Linked DNA regions of Homo sapiens: regions 1 and 3 are each linked to region 2. The links are contacts of gene promoters, found by promoter capture Hi-C in human tissues and cell types (Jung and others, 2019). All regions are on one chromosome and are shown on one strand. Each heading gives the region's core, a stretch centred on a gene start or on the middle of the fragment in contact. The rest is flanking DNA. Distances are from core to core; before and after follow the strand shown.

Region 1 (2,700 bases), core at 109-2,608, 240 kb after region 2:
CTTATTTCTCACAGTTCTGGAGGCAGCTTCACTGTCTGATAAGGACCCGCTTTCTGGATCATACACAGCTTCTCGATATATCCTCACATGGCAGAAGGGACAAAGCAATGCCCCAGGGCCTCATTTATAAGGACAATAATCCCCTTCGCCAGGGCTCCACCCTCATGACCTAATCCACTCTCGAAAACCCCACCTCCTAATACTGGGTCATTGGTGATTAGGTCTCAACATACAAATATGGGGGGACAAAAACTTTCAGACCATAGCAGCATCCTTATCATGAGAGTCTATCCCTCATTCACTAGGCCACAAGCCCTAATTCAACACAGATGTGAGAGGTCCCTTTGGACTCGGCAAGTAATGAATTGCAGAAGTGGAAGGTCTGTCTTTAAAGAAAAGAACTCCTAAGAAAAAAAAACTGAATAAAGAATCCTATAGCAAAAGACAAGTACATTGTTTATGATTATCCTAAAATCTAAAATTTTACAAATTTAAATTTTTACTTTGATATGCATATGTTGTGTGTAAAAGCTAGTGGAAGGTCTGGAAAATACTGTATATATACTGAACTGTTATAGTAGTTATCTCTTGGGGATTAGCAAGGGGTTTGAAGAATACCTTTATTAAAATGTTTAACAAACAGCATATATGACTCTGATAATCAGAAAAAAAAATAAATGTTATTCTCCCAAACAAATGGCTTTGCAAATGGGTCACAGCAGGAAGGAACCACCTAGAAAAACAACCACGTAGAAAAACAAAGCCAAAGCTTTATTTCTTTAGGCTTTGTAAGAGTGCCATCTTCTGGAGTCTCAAGAAATGAACTTTAAAATAAACTAACCTGGCTGGGCGCGGTGGCTCATGCCTGTAATCCCAGCACTTTGGGAGGCCAAGGCAGGTGGGTCACTTGAGGTCAGGAGTTCGAGACCAGCCTGGCTAACATGGCGAAACCCTATCTCTACTAAAAATACAAAAATTAGCCAGGAGTGGTGGCGTGCGCCTGTAGTCCCAGCTACTAGGGAGGCTGAGGCAGGAGAATAGCTTGAACCCAGGAGGCGGAGGTTGCAGTGAGCCAAGATCACACCACTGCACTCCAGCCTGGGCAACAGAGCAAGATTCCGTCTCAAAAAATAAAATAAAATAAAATAAAAATAAGCTAAGCCTGTGTGTTCAAGCCACTTGAGATGTATTGATACTAGAAGGTTTATCTTTTAAAACAAGAAAGAAGAAAAAAAGCAAACCTTTTACAACGATCAACTTAGCAAATTAAAATTGTCTTATTTAACTAATAATTAGTTTCCAAAAAGTTCACCAGTAAGGAGGCAGTTCTACAAGGCATAAAGTGAAAAAGAAAGTTAGCAATTATTTAGAGTTAAGAAAACCAGCCAATCAATAACTACTCAGGCTTTAAAAACATACTCAAATATCAAATGAAAATGAAATTCTTAATCATATAGCTGAGTAAATGATTTTTTTATGGGGTAGTAAATGTTTCTTAAATCTTGGAACTGAATCCAAGATTGTGCTGAGCTAAAGAAACCAGACACAAAAGAATACATACTGTATGATTCCATTTATATGAAACTTTCAGAAAGATAAAATCTCATCTATAGTGACAGAAATAAGCTCAGTGGTCACCTGAGCTGAAAGGTGTGGGAGGAGTGAGAATTAACTGGTTAACCTGGAAGGGGCACCTGAGAACCTTTGGGACCGATGGAAGTGTTCCGTATCTTGACTGTGGTGATGGGTCCATTTAGCAAGGCTCTTCAAACTGCACATTTAAAACGAATATATTTCATTGTAAGTAAATATTAACTCAATAGTCAATTTTAAAATAATAATTGAATATTCTTTCTTCAGATGATACTGTCCACAGGCGCAGAGAGGCCATGTAGGATCGTCAAAGGTGTCCTAGGGCAAGCTGGCTCTTAATCACTGATCAGTAAATATTCAGGAATTTTCCAAGCTGGCTATTAAACCATGGGCAGCTTGAAATTGGCCATGATGGGAGTATTTACACAAATGGAACTTGGGCTTTTAAAATGTATTTCCCAGAAAACTGTTTTACACCAGTACACCACTGAGCATAGAGGTTAAAAGCACAGTTCAAAGGCCTGAGTTTGGGTCCCAGCTCTGGCACTTTCTAATGGTTTTACTTACCTCTCTGTTCCATAGTTCTCTGTTCCCTAAAATCAAGGCAAAAAAGGATACCTGCTTCACGCCCTATTATGAGAATTCTATGGGTCAATTCACACTTGGCATATAGTAAGCACTAAATATTACCTGCTATTATTATGCAAAGAAAAAAAGTCTCTCTACAACTAAAGAAATGAACTGGTTTACATATTTCCCCCAGACATATTTATTCTTTTTCTTCCCTTCATGCACAATCCTAAATTATTCCACTTTTGTAAAAAAAAAAAGTGCACTTTTCTCACCCAACATATGGGGAGGGGGGAATAATATTTATCTTCCCTCTATCACAAGTTGTGAGCATCAAATAAGCCAACTTCTGTGAAGGAGCTTAACAAGCCATAAAGCACTTTGAAACTATAAGATGTGCTTTCTTCAGAGATGGGGTCGCTCTCTGTCACCCAGGCTGTAGTGCAATGGTGTGCTCATAGCTCACTGCAGCCTCAAATTCCTGGGCTCAAGTGATCCTCCCACCTCAGACTACTGCCATTTTAGTCAAATGTCAGA
Region 2 (2,700 bases), core at 29-2,528:
AAGTAATATACATACCATGAGGGTGTATGGAACTTATCCACATATTATACATTTTTTATTTTAGTTGTTTAATGAAAATAATTGTAATTCTTTTCATTTCTGCCAAACTGTTTCCTATCCATGTGTCTTATGCAAGTACCTGCAAGAAAAAGATGAGGGTTTATCTGTTCTACACCCAGAGTACCCAATAGAACATCTTGGATGCATGTTATTGAAGGCTTAATAATTCTAAATATTCTTCATATATAACAAATGCTTTTGTAAATGAAAAATGCATCACGCAATTTTGATGATCAAAGATTAATCAGGCTGGGTGTTGGGGGCTCACGCCTGCAATCCCAACACTTTGGGAAGCAAAGGCGGGTGGATCATGAGGTCAAGAGATCAATACCATCTTGGCCAACATGGTGAAACCCTGTCTCTACTAAAAATACAAAAGTAAGCTGGGTGTGGTGGCACACACCTGTAGTCCCAGCTACTCGGAAGGCTGAGGAAAAGGAACTGCTTGAACCCAGGAGGTGGAAGTTGCAGTGAGCCGAGATCATGCCACTGTACTCCAGCCTGGTGACAGAGGGAGACTCCGTCAGAAAAAAAAAAAAAAAAAAAGATAAATCAAAACTTCCTACTCTTAATGCCTATACTGTAAGAAATACAGCAAAATGTGTTTTTACCCTTTAAAGGCAGTGAGTCATGGGTAAGTACTTTTGCTGGAGGCTGTGGAATAAGATCTGACAAAGAGTTTAGAACTTGTTGGGATCTGACCATCTGCCCGACCATCCGAGATGCACACACGGGATCAGAGTCATCCTCATTACAGATGGGAGATCCTTCCACAAATGAGTCCTTCCTTCTAATTCCTTCCCAACATTTCACCTGACCAGGACGTTCTTTGACAATGAAAGATACATTCACATTATAAAAATCGTCCCCCATTATTTGCAGACAGCAATCTACAGGTAGGAGGGAGAGTCATATTTAAAAACAAAATGTCAGAGAGTCCTGTGACCAGTGCTTTGTAAAAGACACTGCATAGACCAGGGACAAAGGTGACCCCCACCAAGGAAGAAATATGACAAGCATTTCCAATGGAAACACAGGAGCACAGCAGGAAAAGGAAATGAGTTATTTTCTCTGTTTTGGAGTATTTAACTAGAAACACACAATGATGTAATTACATGATTAATTTTTTCAGTAGGTAAATAATAACAAGGAAATAATGACGTGGTGACAACGGGCCTTCAGGCGGGTATAAAGGGGCTATGGACCCAGGAAACTTCCAAACTCAAGAACTTTACTCTCTTGGAAACCCAAATAGATCCTTCACCCTCTGACACCATGGTCAACTCCTGTTGTGGCTCCGTGTGCTCTGACCAAGGCTGTGGCCAAGACCTCTGCCAGGAGACCTGCTGCTGCCCCAGCTGCTGTCAGACCACCTGCTGCAGGACCACCTGCTACCGCCCCAGCTACAGTGTGTCCTGCTGCTGCAGACCCCAGTGCTGCCAGTCTGTGTGCTGCCAGCCCACCTGCTGTCGCCCCAGCTGCTGTGTGTCCAGCTGCTGCAAGCCCCAGTGCTGCCAGTCTGTGTGCTGCCAGCCCACCTGCTGCCACCCTAGCTGCTGCATCTCCAGCTGCTGCCGCCCCAGCTGCTGTGTGTCCAGCTGCTGCAAGCCCCAGTGCTGCCAGTCTGTGTGCTGCCAGCCCAACTGCTGCCGCCCCAGCTGCAGCATCTCCAGCTGCTGCCGCCCCTCTTGCTGTGAATCCAGCTGCTGCCGCCCCTGCTGCTGCCTGCGTCCAGTCTGTGGCCGAGTCTCCTGCCACACCACTTGCTATCGCCCAGCCTGTGTCATCTCCACCTGCCCCCGCCCCGTGTGCTGCGCCTCCTCTTGCTGCTGAGCCCACTGCCCTGGCTCATCTCTCCCTTCACCGCTGGTCCACAAATGTAGACCATTCTTCTGTGCTGAATATTAGGACACATGGAGTGGGATTTATGTCATTCAGCAGGGTGGACCTCATGTATCCAATGAGCCCATCACCATCCCGCTGACTCTGTGAGAACATTCTGGTTCATTTTAAACTCCCTCCCTTGCTTTCTTTTTCTTCCAGTCATGGCACCAAATACGAATTAATTTGTAATCCACTAGCTAAGAAATTATTCCAATCCTCTAAATTCCTCATTTTTTAAAATCATTTTGAGCCTACAGAATATCCTTCCCAATTAGGTACACATTATCTCCCTTTCAAACATACTATTTGTCTGTCAGCCTTTCAGTCATTCTTTTCTTTTGGAAAGGTAGGAGGCTGCCCCTCCCGTGCTCTCCCGCTTTCTCCCTGCTCTCTCTTTCTCTCACTGTTCAAGTTTGTCAGAATTTTTCTATTTTATTAGTTCTTTATCTTTATTGTGTTCACAAAATATATTGTATTAAACTTTTCATTTAGAAATCTTTTATTGTTTTTTGCATTTTTTGTGATAATTTTCACTGAGTTTACTGATTCATGGGGGTGAGGTGGGAATGCAGTAGAAGGGGATTCTCAAAGCATGATTCCAAAGTAAGACTTCAGGGATGAAATCATAGTGCCAAACTGCTCCAATGTCACACATAAACTAAAATAAAATAGAAGCTTTTGATTGTTTCAATTTGATATACGGAATGGTTTGGGATACGTAAAACCCCTAGTAATGTCACAGATAAACTAAAATAA
Region 3 (2,700 bases), core at 49-2,548, 250 kb before region 2:
AGGGAAGTGGAGCAATGGTTCGCCACGCAGGTGGGCATCTAAGCACGTGGCCACTCAGGACCCGAGGCCCCCCAGGGCCCCGGAGGCAGGGTCTGATCCTTTCTCCCCTTGGGTGTTTCAGACCGAGGAGCTGAACAAGCAGGTGGTATCCAGCTCGGAGCAGCTGCAGTCCTACCAGGCGGAGATCATCGAGCTGAGACGCACGGTCAATGCCCTGGAGATCGAGCTGCAGGCCCAGCACAACCTGGTGTGTATTGTTCAGACCTGCTGGTGAGCGATGGGAACTTGGGAGGCAGAGTCTTGGGGATGCCCTTGGGGCCACACACTCTCCTTAGCTCTTGGAGCTTGTGAGTTCTTTGGAACCCCATGGAGGAACCTTATAAGGAGCAGCTCTCTGACACTCTCAATCTTCCCCACCACAGCGAGACTCTCTGGAAAACACGCTGACAGAGAGCGAGGCCCGCTACAGCTCCCAGCTGTCCCAGGTGCAGAGACTGATCACCAACGTGGAGTCCCAGCTGGCGGAGATCCGCAGTGACCTGGAGCGGCAGAACCAGGAGTATCAGGTGCTGCTGGACGTGCGGGCGCGGCTGGAGTGTGAGATCAACACGTACCGGAGCCTGCTGGAGAGCGAGGACTGCAAGTCAGTATGGGGGTAGTAATCTTCTCCTTGGGGCATGTTAGGTTGCTGTGGAGATGAATAGTCTTCTTGATGGAAATGAATTTATAATTTCAAGCTTTTGTTTGGAGGAAGTCCAAGGAGGAACAATATTCTTACACAAAGCCCTTTTAGTATTTTCCAATCTCTTCAGCTCATTTTACTCTAACTTGCTCCAATGATTTTCTGCCCACAGGCTCCCCTCCAACCCCTGCGCCACAACCAATGCATGTGACAAGTCCACTGGGCCCTGTATCTCTAATCCCTGTGGCCTACGTGCTCGGTGTGGGCCTTGCAACACATTTGGGTACTAGAGGCCCCACAACCAGGAGGAGAAGAAAGGCATCAGTCACACCTCAACTCTACTTCATCCCAACATCTCCAACAGTGACCACACTTTGGAAAGAGGCAGAAACCTTTCTATCAACCCTGGCTTCCAGGGGTCAGCTCTAGCCTTCCACTGTATTCCCTGGCTTGATTCTTCAGCATAAGGCTGCAAAATCTGTCTTCTGAGTCACATAGAGAGACCTACAGCAGGATCAAGATCAAGCAATATCTATCACCATAAAGACACATTTGCATAACATGTTATACTTGAATAAAACTTAAATAATACAATTTAGAGAAAATTCCATTAAATGTGATAGAGCTGATGGGCATGCTATGAAACAGAACATAATTGGAGCAAATCTTCCTTGTCACTCTTGGTCTTTGGAGATGCAATAGAAATCCTTTGTTAACCTCCTAATAAACTGTTATTCAAAAGTTATAATTGTCTGTTTCACTCATTAATTCCAAAATTGGCTGTCTTGTATAAATTAAAAAAATAACCAGAGTTTTTCCATCAGATGAAGAGGTTATTCACCCCATATATGGCCTATGATTTCCTTCAATGGAAAAGCCTCCATGAAAGACTATTAACCCGGATTTAGTGTTTGGGAAGAAGGTGGTGGGAAACAGAATGGCAAATTCATATGAAGGTGTCTTTAGAGACACAGGAACTATTTATTCTGAAACATTAAGTGGAGGGATCCGAAAACCTTTTGAGTAAAAAAAAAACCTGTACTGAGGTAATATAAATCTATCACCTTAACATATGGTATATAATCTCATATACACATATACATAACCACATACCATATAAGCATATGTACACCACACACACATGCACACACACAACCATGCTGTGCTGAAATGTTTAGGTAGAAAGTAGGAAGGAGCAGCAAAGGGTAGAGGGATATAGTGGCCAGGAGGAGTGTGGGATCTGCTAGGCTGGATGGTGGGGAGGTGCCTTTGGTTCACCTTCCTCTCTTTGTTCCTGCCTCGGCACTCAAGGACTCCTTGTGACTTTCTGTAGTTCTATGATGTGGGCCTGGAACTCTATGCTGGAGTTCTCTGCTCAGTTGCCTGGGGTCTGCGTCAGATGATGGAGAACTGTGAGTGGGTTATTTGGCGGAAAAGTCTCTTTTGTCCTAGTGAGCCTTGAGCTTTGGCCCCACCTGTTTTTATTTATATGCAGTTGGGACCATCATTATGTCACATTACTGCCTTCAGTGGCATCCAGATTTGGCAATGTTTAAAAAAACAAAAACAGCAATCAAGTAAGGAAACCCAAGGCCCAGCCCACAAATGAGATTGAGTCTCATTTTTCACTTCTCTACTCCTACTTTTCTAAATCAATGATTGAAATGAAGAGATATTGAGAATGGGAACTCTTAATAGAGATTAGAATATCATCAACCTATGAGAACAGGTAGGGAGGGGCAGGAGGTAGAGTGGGGGTTGGAAATTCTCTCCAAAACTTGCAGACCATATATTTAGGTGTGGTAGAGATGTCCAGGGAAAAATACCCAAAACCTTCCATTCAGGGCTGTGGATACCAGAGGACAGCTAAGGAGACCAGCCCTCAACAGTTGCTCGTGGCCACCTTCTTCCCTTAGGTGCGGACCAGTCCTCTCTTTTGCGTTAGGGCTAACATAGAGAGAATGCTGAGTCTCAAAGATTGGTCACTCGCTACTCCATTTGTCTTCAGCAGCACAGTC

The links. Contacts are between HindIII fragments. The study calls those that stand out against the background at their distance.
Region 1: a fragment that was not itself captured here is called in contact with the fragment with the promoter of KRTAP4-8 in region 2 in 4 of the 25 tissues and cell types used here (heart right ventricle, mesenchymal stem cells, stomach and 1 more).
Region 3: a fragment that was not itself captured here is called in contact with the fragment with the promoter of KRTAP4-8 in region 2 in 3 of the 25 tissues and cell types used here (IMR-90 fibroblasts, bladder and liver).

What each region holds. Positions count from the first base shown.
Region 1 is chr17:40,855,268-40,857,967 of GRCh38, reverse strand. The region is part of intron 1 of LOC105371777 (a long non-coding RNA gene); the gene reads right to left. Among named protein-coding and RNA genes, the nearest start is that of KRT12, 11 kb to the left of the region's middle. RefSeq lists an enhancer at 677-971. The HindIII fragment of the contact is 6,754 bases long and covers 1-2,700 here.
Region 2 is chr17:41,096,720-41,099,419 of GRCh38, reverse strand. It overlaps KRTAP4-8 (keratin associated protein 4-8), which reads left to right and starts at 1,278. Exons shown (of 1, transcript NM_031960.3): 1 at 1,278-2,439. The coding sequence starts at 1,336. The coding sequence ends at 1,893. The HindIII fragment of the contact is 2,566 bases long and covers 1,193-2,700 here.
Region 3 is chr17:41,344,391-41,347,090 of GRCh38, reverse strand. KRT33A (keratin 33A) reads left to right here. Exons shown (of 7, transcript NM_004138.4): 4 at 1-30; 5 at 122-247; 6 at 423-643; 7 at 855-999. The coding sequence ends at 972. Among named protein-coding and RNA genes, the nearest start is that of KRT33A, 5.1 kb to the left of the region's middle. RefSeq lists enhancers at 1-130, 131-631. The HindIII fragment of the contact is 3,560 bases long and covers 1-2,700 here.